Regions from separate parts of the Homo sapiens genome. Here regions 2 and 3 are each linked to region 1. Evidence: promoter capture Hi-C in human tissues and cell types (Jung and others, 2019). All regions are on one chromosome and are shown on one strand. The core of a region is centred on a gene start or on the middle of the fragment in contact, and the rest is flanking DNA. Distances in the headings are between cores, read along the strand shown.

Evidence for each region. Contacts are between HindIII fragments. The study calls those that stand out against the background at their distance.
Region 2: a fragment that was not itself captured here is called in contact with the fragment with the promoter of RSPO3 in region 1 in 2 of the 25 tissues and cell types used here (H1 embryonic stem cells and bladder).
Region 3: a contact is called between a fragment that was not itself captured here and the fragment with the promoter of RSPO3 in region 1, in 2 of the 25 tissues and cell types used here (H1 embryonic stem cells and thymus).

The regions. Positions count from the first base shown.
Region 1 is chr6:127,116,617-127,120,231 of GRCh38, reverse strand. RSPO3 (R-spondin 3) reads right to left here and starts at 1,561. Exons shown (of 5, transcript NM_032784.5): 1 at 943-1,561. The coding sequence starts at 1,039. LOC105377989 (a long non-coding RNA gene) reads left to right here. Exons shown (of 14, transcript XR_002956387.2): 4 at 1-1,331. The HindIII fragment of the contact is 6,946 bases long and covers 1-3,615 here.
Region 2 is chr6:126,503,432-126,507,046 of GRCh38, reverse strand. No RefSeq gene overlaps it. Among named protein-coding and RNA genes, the nearest start is that of MIR588, 21 kb to the right of the region's middle. The HindIII fragment of the contact is 5,823 bases long and covers 1-3,615 here.
Region 3 is chr6:126,549,197-126,552,811 of GRCh38, reverse strand. No RefSeq gene overlaps it. Among named protein-coding and RNA genes, the nearest start is that of MIR588, 66 kb to the right of the region's middle. The HindIII fragment of the contact is 6,525 bases long and covers 1-3,615 here.

The DNA of each region.
Region 1 (3,615 bases), core at 312-2,811:
CATCTTGGGAAGATTCTACCTTTCAGACAGACCAACCCAGGTTGAGGCTGCCGTGGTGGTGTCCGCTTAATTCCAGCTAGGACACCGTCTTAAGAAGCCATCACAATCCAACCCTCCAAATAACAGCATTAAGGGCAGCGAGGAGGCGAATCTTTAGGGAGACCCCACTCTCTGTACGTGTGTGTCCCAGGGGACACACTTGAAAGGGCCAGAGATGGTACAGACGCTCACATGTGACAAGAGAGAACCTGGAAACTCCGCACCTCCGGCTCCCCACAGCTGGGGTTTTGCTGTCTTCAACCCTCGGGCGGGGGACGTCCGGCAGCTCTGCAAACGCGCAGACACGCGAACCCCATCGCCTCGCGCGCCCTTTGGCTCCGCTGGTGCGTGTCGGGGATGCGGCCGCGCAGGCGCTCGCTCCCTGGCTTCCTGGCCGGGTAGCGGGCGTTCGGCTACCGGAGTCCAGCCTAAGGGCCCAGCCGAGGTCTCCCCGCGCGAGGCGGTTGCGCTAGGTGAGCGGGTACCGCGGCCGCGCCTCCCTTGTCATTTACTCAGCGGTCAGAGGCATCCTGCGTCTGGGAGTCCCAAGTGCCTTCGGCTGGGTGCCCCTGTCCGATCCTCAAAAGGAAAGCACAAATCCCGGGTGCGAGTCTAACCCAGGACCGAACTTTCCCGCGAACCTGAAGTTACCATGGGGCGGGAGCCACCTTAGCGCCGCGTCCGCCCGCCCCTCGCACCGGCTAGGATGCTGCGGAAGGCAGGGGCGCCGAGAGGCAAGGGTGAAAGACGCCGTCCATACCCCCAAAGCCCGAACCTGCATCTCCTCTGCGAGGCGCAGGGCGGGAGGACCGCTGCAGTTGGGAGCCGGCTCCGGACAGGCAAAGCGACCCGACAGGTGAACGCGGCGGGAGGGAGCAAACGCGTAAAAAACCCTGCACTTACTTCTTCGCTGGCGCCTTCCCCGGGAGGCGTTTTGGCTGCCGATGTATTCCATAAAGTTCAAAATGATAAAAAGCCAAGAAATCAGTCGCAAGTGCATAGTAACCCAGTAATGCTTCCCTTCCTTTCTCCTCTTTCTTTTGATTGTTAATTATATTTAATGTTTTTAAAATATATGTAGGTGTTAGGCGTATATAGACAGTGCCCGAGCAGCGGGACTTCTCCTCTCACATCCGATAGGCGTGCTGTGATGGCAAGCGAAGTGGGGCGGGTGGACAGGGAAACCAACTATTGTACTTTCAAATTATCCAAGCACTGAACTGCGGCGGCTTCGCTGGGGTGGCTGGCATCGCCGCGAACCGGGGTTCCAGGAGCCGCCGGGGCGGCCGCAGGTAGCATGTTGTGCGGCAACTGCCGCAGGCGGGATCCGGGCGGGCGAGCGGCGGCGGCGGCGGCTGCAGCGGCGGCCCCTTGGGCTCAGAAGCTGCGGCGGCTGCGGCTGCAGCGGCGGGGGCCCCTGGAGCGCAGGGGAGCGGGCGCCGTCGGCACAGCGGCCATGGCCAAGGGGCGGCGGAGAGACCCCGAGCTGCTTCTGGCGTGCGCGAGCAGGAGACGCTCCAGTGTTGGGCTGGGCTCCCGGGAGCACCACATAGGGGAGGAGGAGGAGGAGGGCAGGGAGGGGGGAGGGAGAGGAGGGCAGGGAGGGGGAGAGGAGGGGGGATGGCTGTGGGGGGCGGGGGGGAGCTCGGGGGCGGGGAAGGAAACTGCTGGAGCAACAACCCTGAGCGACCTCAATAACTTTCAATTTCAAGAGGGAAAGAGGGAGCTGGAAAAGTACAGGCGTTGCGCTTTGGCAGAGGGACGGGAAGAGGCGCCTAAGGGGTCCCGGGTCTACAGCGCAGCATCTCTGGACACTGCAGTGACGGCCGGAGAATTCCAGCCAGAAGAATGGGGAAAGCAGTGCGTGCGAAGAGCCCCTCCAGAAGGGCAGCTCTGGCGGGGAGACTTGGGCGCACTGGGGCTGGCAGGCAGTGTTGAGGCCGAAGACCCCCCACCCATCCCAGTTCGGCTCCTCTCCGCGGCCTCAAGCTAGGCGCACCCGGCTGTCGGTGGCCGTGCGCCCCTGCGCCCTTGTGCCCCAGCGCCCCCACCCCATCCCCAGCGCCGGCGCGCAACTACCCTCTCCCCCTTGGCAGATCGCTGGAGAGTTTCTGGCTGCTGACTTGTTCCCGGCTTTCCTGACCTTCTCCTCTGTTGCCTTTCTCCCTTTTTCTTTTTCTCTCTCTTTCTTTCTTTCTTTCTTTCTTTCTTTCTTTCTTTCTTTCTTTCTTTCTTTCTTTCTTTCTTTCTTTCTTTCTCTTTCTTTCTTTTCTTTCTTTCTTCCTTCCTCTTTCTTTGTCTTTCTTTCTTTCTTTCCTTCCTTCCTTCCTTCCTTCCTTCCTTCCTTCCTTCCTTCTTCTTTCTTTCTTTCTTTCCTTTCTTTCTTTCTTTTCGGCTGCAGTTGGTCGCCAGGCGGGTGGTGGGGAGGAAACTCTGTGGGTGCTGCCGGTCAGCTACTCTGAGGTTTACCTGCTCCGAGCGGGGAGGACCCAGAAGTGTGTGCGCTCAGGACCTTCCCGTTGGAAATGCAGCTGTGCTACGGCTTTCTTCCAAACCAAGGCTTTTCTGTGGCTTTGGAAGATTCCTTTCCCGCTCAGGCAATTCCCTCTATAGTCAGCTCGCCCCCCTTGGAGTTTTCTCTCCCACCCTCGGTCTCCCAGTGTTCTTGAGAGGATCTGTTGTACATTCTAATCTCGCATCTGGAAGACTGGGAATAAGATTTGGAAAGATTTTCCCAGTCTTGGGGAAGGAAGGGGAAGGTCCACTACTTTCTTATCTTCCCAGCCCAAGTGGAGGCCCAAGGCAGCAGAGAGTAAGATGCTCTGGCCCACCCAGGGATGGGAGAACAGAGGGCCGGCACCCCTGAGTGGGGCACACCCTGGCTGTCGTTAGTAAATGGTGAGCTTTCCACGTCTTTTCTCCGGTAGCACCAGCCGATGAACTTTTCAGTAATTACTGAAGAAGTATTTAGTCGAAAGTCACAAGCCTCAAGTGATTTTAACATAAGCCTGCCCTATGTATTATATTTAACAGAATATCTGAAGGACTACACTAGCACTACAGGTTAACACAGCAGCAAACTTCTGGGAGGTCACTTTGAAAGAGTCCCTGATTCATAGGTGCTTTGCTAATTTTTGTGCTCAAATAATTCAGTGTAAGTCAATTGCTAAAGCCTTGCAGAGTAGCAAGTGACACTTGCACTTCTATCTCCTTCCTCCATTTGTAATCCCTATTACTGGATTGCCTTCAATTTATGTAAATTAGGTAAATTTACATGAATTAGAGCATTTTGTAAGTTTGCAATGCTGTGAATTGTATGTCTCTGGAGTCCTTTAGTGGTATATTTGTTATACATCCCAAAAGTAGGATAGAGGCGATAAAGTGGCCTGGATGCAAAAGGAAGGGAACTTGAAATATGCATTATTTTCAAGATGCTAAAAATTAGAATCTGAGAGATGGCCTTTTGATGTTAATTCTTTAATTAAATATCATTTATTATTTTGCATGCTCGTGTTGGAATTTCGAAAGTAGGCATAGTCTCCTTTAGGTTTGATATTATGAGGAAGATGACACCTC
Region 2 (3,615 bases), core at 335-2,834, 610 kb after region 1:
TCTCTGAGGTTTCATTTGTTCCTTTTCATTCTTTTCTTCTCTAATCTTGCCTACATGCCTTATTTCAGCAAGATGGTCTTAAACTCTGATATCCTTTCTTCTGCTTGGTCAATTCGGCTATAGATACTTGTGTATGCTTCACAATGTTTTCTTGCTATGTTTTTCAGCTCCATCAAGTCATATATGTTCCTCTCCAAACTGGTTATTCTAGTTAGCAGCTCCTGTAACCTTTAATCAAGTTTCTTAGTTTCTTTGCATTGGGTTAGAACATGCTCCTTTAACTCAGTGGAGTTTGTTATTACCAACCTTCTGAAGCCTACTTCTGTCATTTCATCCATCTCATTCTCTGTCCAGTTCTGCACCTTGCTGTAGAGGTGTTGCGATCATTTGGAATAGAGGCACTCTGGCCTTTTGAGTTTTCAGCATTTTTTTTTTCATTGACTCTTTTTCATCTTCATGAGTTTGTCTAGTTTCAATCTTTGAGGCTGCCGACCCTTGGATGGGTTTTGGTGGGGACTTTTTTTGTTGATGTTGTTGTTGCTGCTTTCTGTTTGTTTTTCTCTCAATAGTCACGTCCCTCTTCTGTAGGGCTACTGCAGTTTGCTGGGGGTTCACTTCAGGTCCTATTCCTCTGGTTCACTCCTGCATGTGGATATGTCACTCGAGGAGGCTGGAGAACAGCAAAGATGGGTGCCTGCTCCTTCCTCTGGGATCTCTGACCTCAAGGGGCACTGATCCAATGCCAGTAGGAATGCTCCTACATAGGGTGTCTGACAACCCCTGTTGGAGGGTCTCACCTAGTTGGGTGGCATGGGAGCAGGACTCATTTAATGAAGCACTTTGACTATCCCTTGGTGGAGGGGGTATGCTTCACTGGGGGGAAACCCACTCATCTGGGCTGCCCAGATTCCTCAGACTAGCAGGAGGAAAGACTAACTATGCTGGTCTGTGGAGATTATGGCCACCCCTCCCCCTAGAGGCTCATACCCAGGGAGATCAGAGTTCTGTCCCTGAGTCCCTGGCTAGAGTTGTTGAAGTTCCTGCAGGGAGGCCCTGCCCAGTAAGGAGGGATGGGTCAGGGTTGGGCCTGAAGAGGCACTCTGGTCACAGTCTGCCAAAGCCAGTGTGTTGGGCTGTGGGGATACCTCTTGGGACCAATCTGTCTAGCCTCCCTGGCTCCAGCAGGGGAAAAGCATGGCCTGAAGCTGAAGAGATGGCTGCCGCCCTTTCCCCACCCTGGGATCTTAGGCAGCTATCAGTCCCAGTGTTGGCTGCTACCCCTCCCACAAGGAGCTCAAATGGCTTAGACAGCCCAGTGTCCTCCGGAAAAGAAAGCTCTGGAGGGTCAGGCCACTCTTTTTCTTCAAAATAAGTAGGGGGTGCAGAAGGGTAGGGATGAACCTCTTCCTCCTTTGCTGCTTTAGCTTTAGCTGGCAAACAAACCTGCTCTGTCATCTCTTCTGTTATTTCATTATACTTTCCTTCCTTTTATTATTAGTGTGAAAAGGTTCCAACGTAGAACAAGCCAGAGCCCACACTTGTCCCATTGTTACCCTGATGCTTCCAAGCTCCCCTCACCACAGGGATTGCTTATGAGTACTCAGGTGTCCTCCAGCTTAGTTCCACATTCTCCAACCGTCGCTCCAGTGACCCTTTGACCTGGGTTCGAGACTCCACGTATGGGCACCACTTGCCAAGACCAGCTCGGTTGTGGAGACACTAACCCAGCAGCGCTAGAGGAATTAAAGACACACACACAGAAATACAGAGTGTGGAGTGGGAAATCAGGGGTCTCACAGCCTTCAGAGCTGAGAGCCTTGAACAGAGATTTACCCACATACTTATTGACAGCAAGCCAGTCATAAGATTTACTAAAAGTATTCCTTACGGGAAATAAAGGGATGGGCCAAAATAAAGGGATGGGCTCTGGCTAGTTATCTGCAGCATAAACATGTCCTTAAGGCACAGATAGCTCATGCTATTCTTTGTGGTTTAAGAATGGCTTAAGCAGTTTTCCGCCCTGGGTGCGCCAGGTGTTCCTTGCCCTCTTTCCGGTAAACGGACAACTTTCCAGCATGGGCGTCGAGACCATAACGAGCGTGTCACAGTGCTGCAGAGATTTTGTTTATGGCCAGTTTTGGGACCAGTATATGGCCAGATTTTGGGGCCTGTTCCCAACATATAAGTTGTAAATTACTTTAGAATAAATAATGTATATATGTAATTATATATAATTTATGTTTTAGTCTTATTGTGAAGATAGTAATTTGAATATAAATATTCAATAATTGTATACTTTAATAATTATAAGAGAAAAAAGAGTTCTTACTTATAATGTTAAGATATTAGCTCCAAGAATGAAATTAAATGAGTGGGTATATTGAAGAGTGTTATGAAGCTATATTAGAACCACTTGATGAAAAAGAGGTAGCCCCTTTGTTCAGAAATATGATGTGATGGCAAAAGACAATGGAAAAAATATGAAACGACTTTCTTTTGTGCTTTTTGTCAGTGATAATTTTAAGACTGGAAAGTGGAACAAACATTTGCAGGAGTAAAAGAAAACCCCAGGGCCGGGCGCGGTGGCTCACGCCTGTAATCCCAGCACTTTGCAAGGCCGAGGTGGGCGGATCACAAGGTCAGGAGATCGAGACCATCCTGGCTAACACGGTGAAACCCCGTCTCTACTAAAAAATACAAAAAATTAGCTGGGCGTCATGGCGGGCGCCTGTAGTCCCAGCTACTCGGGAGGCTGAGGCAGGAGAATGGCATGAGCCTGGGAGGCGGAGCTTGCAGTGAGCCGAGACAGCGCCACTGCACTCCAGCCTGAGCTACAGAGCGAGACTCTGTCTCAAAAAAAAAAAAAAGAAAAAGAAAAAAAAGAAAACCCCAGGTAGTAAAATAAATGGTCAGAACACCTAATGAAATTAACTCAAGTTTTTGGCCCAAAGATCTACATCTCAAATTACTGAGAGAATTGGTAGGTGTAGTTGCTGAACATACTTACATAAATTTTTATAAACTCTGATTAATATAGAACAATAGGACAAATTACCAAGATAGGCAAATATGTTTCTGATCTTCCAAGAAAAAGAATAAAACAGAAATTATTGACACACTCAATTTAATTTCAGGAAAAAGTATTTTACTGATTGTTAAACAAAAGACAGGTCCAAAAATAGAGGGAAGTTATGATATCTTGAAAGCCTTATAAATAAACTTTACAAAACCAATGCAATTTCTTTTCTTTTTTTTTTTTTTTTTTTTTGAGCCGGAGTCTCACTCTGTCACCCAGGCTGGAGTGCAGTGGCGCTATCTCGGCTCACTGCAAGCTCCGCCTCCCGGGTTCACACCATTCTCCTGCCTCTGCCTCCCAAGTAGCTGGGACTACAGGCGCCCACCACCACGTCCAGCTAATGTTTTTGTATTTTTAGTAGAGATGGGGTTTCACCGTGTTAGCCAGGATGGTCTCGATCTCCTGATCTCATGATCCACCCACCTCGGCCTCCCAAAGTGCTGGGATTACGGGTGTGAGCCACCGTGCCCGGCCTCTTTTCTCTTTTAAAGGAGGTGCAAAATATGGCAAATAAGGGGGAAGAATAGAGATAGCATATA
Region 3 (3,615 bases), core at 697-3,196, 570 kb after region 1:
CATCAAAACTGAAACATTTCTTCAGGGTTTTATATATTTTTTTTAAATAAAAATGTGACCTTTTCCTACTTGACTCTAAAATATTTTCTAGTTTACCCAACCATCCTTACTAAAATTATCTTCCCAGAAAGAAAATCTAGTCAAATTGGCAGGCTTTTGGTTAGATAAACCTAACTTTTAAATCTATCATCAAAACTTACATAAATTTAGAAAGTCCATCACTGGCCAGGCACGGTGGCTCACGCCTGTAATCCCAGCACTTTGGGAGGCTGAGGTGGGCAGATCACCTGAGGTCCGGAGTTTGAGACCAACCTGACCAACATGGAGAAACCCTGTCTCTACTAAAAATACAAAATTAGCCGGTTGTGGTGGTGCATGCTTGTAATCCCAGCTACTCGGAAAGCTGAGGCAGGAGAATCGCTTGAACCTGGGAGGTGGAAATTGTGGTGAGCTGAGATGGCGCCATTGCACTCCAGCCTGGGCAAGAGGAGTGAATCTCTTTCCCCCTCCCCTCTCCCAAAACAACAACAACAACAAAAAAAAAACAACAGTCCATCACTCACTGAATCCTGGCTTATATATCTATAAAATTGAGGCTAATGACTTTGAAATGTTGGTTTGAAGATTGGAGTTACATGTAAATTTAATTTTAATTGCCTTGCTCCTTTACTAATCACAAATGAAATGGCACATTACAGAATAATGCTCAAACTCCTTGGCTTGCCATCAAGGCCATTCATGAATGTGTCACAACTACATTTGCATTTCCCACCATCTCTGCAGCCCACATCCTCTAGCCACATTGGATTGTCTGATGCTTCCCAAACATATCTTATAACATCATGCCATTCTAATTTTGTTTGTGGCATTTGTTATCCATGAAATGCAAAAAGACTTCTGCACCTAAAGAAATCCACTCCTCTTTTAATGATCCACTCGACTATCTTCTTCTCTAGGGAACTTTACTTGATAGTCTCAGAAAATTTTCTATCTCTGGACTTCCACTGTTAATTTATATGTATGTTACAACACTTGTCATTATTCTCTTTTGTTAGTTGTTAAAATGTTGTTAACTCTTTCATAGCTGGTGTGGAAATAAAGACCCTATATTAATTATCTTTTTCTAAAACCAAGCACAGAGCTAGGCATATATGTCAGTTCAGGAACCAACACTGGAAAAATACTGTAAGTAATCAGTGGAAATCTTTGAGAAATGAAAACTTACCAAAATATGGAAAGTGATTAAATATTTTCAGAATGTATAAAAGATATTTCCAGATCAGTAAATTCTGCATTAGTCCATTGGAGATTCTGGAATAAACACCTTTAGGGTACTTCTAAAGAACACTGTGGTCACTAGGAACTTACAAGCTCACTACAAGAGAATGGTGTATACAAACTACATTTCATTATTGGTGCTCTTTAAGAGGGTAAACTCCACATTATCTTGATTTTAGGAAGACGTTTGAAAAAGCTTTTTAAGATGTCACTGACAGGAGGAAGAAATGTGGCCAGGATGATGATGATACTGACACGGGAGCAGGGCAGGGAGGTGCTGGGTAGAGATGGGTGGGGTCCCTGGCAAAGGCTCAATCCTCAAGCCTGGGCCCACGGACCTAAGTGAGAACAGGCACTCCTGTTTTCACGCCCAAATGTTGCATTTTCCAAGACCACTCTGGCCCGCCATGCCCCCATCCTGTGCTCATATAAACATGAGACCATAGGAGGCACAGACACAAGTGGCTGAATATCAAGAGGAGCAGAGGAACAGACCAGCAGACACCAGCAGACCAGCAACAACAGAACAACACAGCAGAGAAAGAGAGAAGAGGAAGGACATCTGGCTGAGGGGAGTTCAGCCAAAGGCAGTCGGAGAAGAGCCTGGTAGCTGGGCGGCCTGACTCCAGGGGAAGACCACCTTCCCACTCCATCCCCTGCTTTACACCTCCCCGTCCATCTCACTGAGAGCAACCTCCACCACTCAATAAAACCTTGCACTCATCCTTTGAGTCCACATGTGATCTGATTCTTCTGGTACACTGGGCAAGAGCTTGGGATATAGAAAGCTGTTGCACTAGCCCTCTGCCCTTGCGATAAGGCAGAAGGTCTAGTGAGCTGATTAACACAAGCCGTCTGTAGATGGCAAAGCTGAAAGAGCACACCGTAACACACACCTACTTGGGCTTCAGGAGTCACAGACACCCACCCCTAAACATTGCTGTGGGGACGGAGCCCAAAAGCGATCCCTATGGCCTCTGCACCTGCCTGTCTGCATGCTCCCCCTAGGGGTTTGAGAGCAGCAGGGTGACCAAAGGAGCCAGCCACACCCCTGTCACAGGACCTGCAAAGGGTATAAGGGAACTCTTCTGTTTCAATACTAAACTGGGGTCTGATTGCAGGCAGTGCCCTATGAGTATTGATTAATGGAGAAAACTCAACCAGGTGAATGAATTGTCTAGTGTGTGTCATTCAGTTTTGTGCTTATGGTTTTCTGGTAAGCATTTTTATCAGCTACTTGAGAAAAGACATAGGAGACAAGTTCATTATATTTGCTGATAAAATATAAGGAGGTACATTTTCTTTTTTTTTTTTTGAGACGGAGTCTCGCTCTGTCGCCCAGGCTGGAGTGCAGTGGCGGGATCTCGGCTCACTGCAAGCTCCGCCTCCCGGGTTCACGCCATTCTCCTGCCTCAGCCTCCCAAGTAGCTGGGACTACAGGCGCCCGCCACTACGCCCGGCCAATTTTTTGTATTTTTAATAGAGACAGGGTTTCACCGTTTTAGCCGGGATGGTCTCGATCTCCTGACCTCGTGATCCGCCCGCCTCGGCCTCCCAAAGTGCTGGGATTACAGGCGTGAGCCACCGCGCCCGGCCAAGGAGGTACATTTTCTGAGATAAGCTACTGGCATATGTCACCTCCCCTCTGCTCTATTTTGATAATCAAAAATGTTCCCCGACATTGCCAAATGTCTCCTGGGAGCAAAATCTCCCTTAGTTGAGAACTCCTGGGCTAGAATCAGGACGTGATCCTAACCAGATGAAACATATATAAATGCTTCATGAGGTAAAGAATGCACTATCTTTCTGGCTTAACTTTTTACGTTCTGTGCTTGAGACATAGTAGGCATTTATTGAATAGAGAAATGAGTGAGCGAATAATTGATTAAAACCCCAGATCTGAACTTATATTTTGAAAAGCACAATAACATCTCTTGAATACAAAGAAAGTCCAACTGATTGAATGTGCTGTCAAAAATACAAAATTTCGTACAAATTCAGCATGAGCCAAATAATAATATTGCTCCTGAGAACCAAAACAAACAAATAAATGCAAGGTTAGGCTTCGCTAATAGAAGTGGAATATCCCGAAAAAGGGATGTGATGTTACACTGACTAAAACATGGCATTCAGTTCTGTTGAATTATATTTAGAAAAAAATAACAGATTGGGGTGATTTTAAGAGTAAACGTAGGTAAAGTTCCTGAAAAAATATGTCACAAAATAAATGGCTGAAGTATAAGATTATTTAGTTTATGGGAAACTATGCTGGAGAACATGAAAATTTCAAATATTTGAAAATTAATCCTGCGATTAGATTCTGTGTATTCCAAAGGC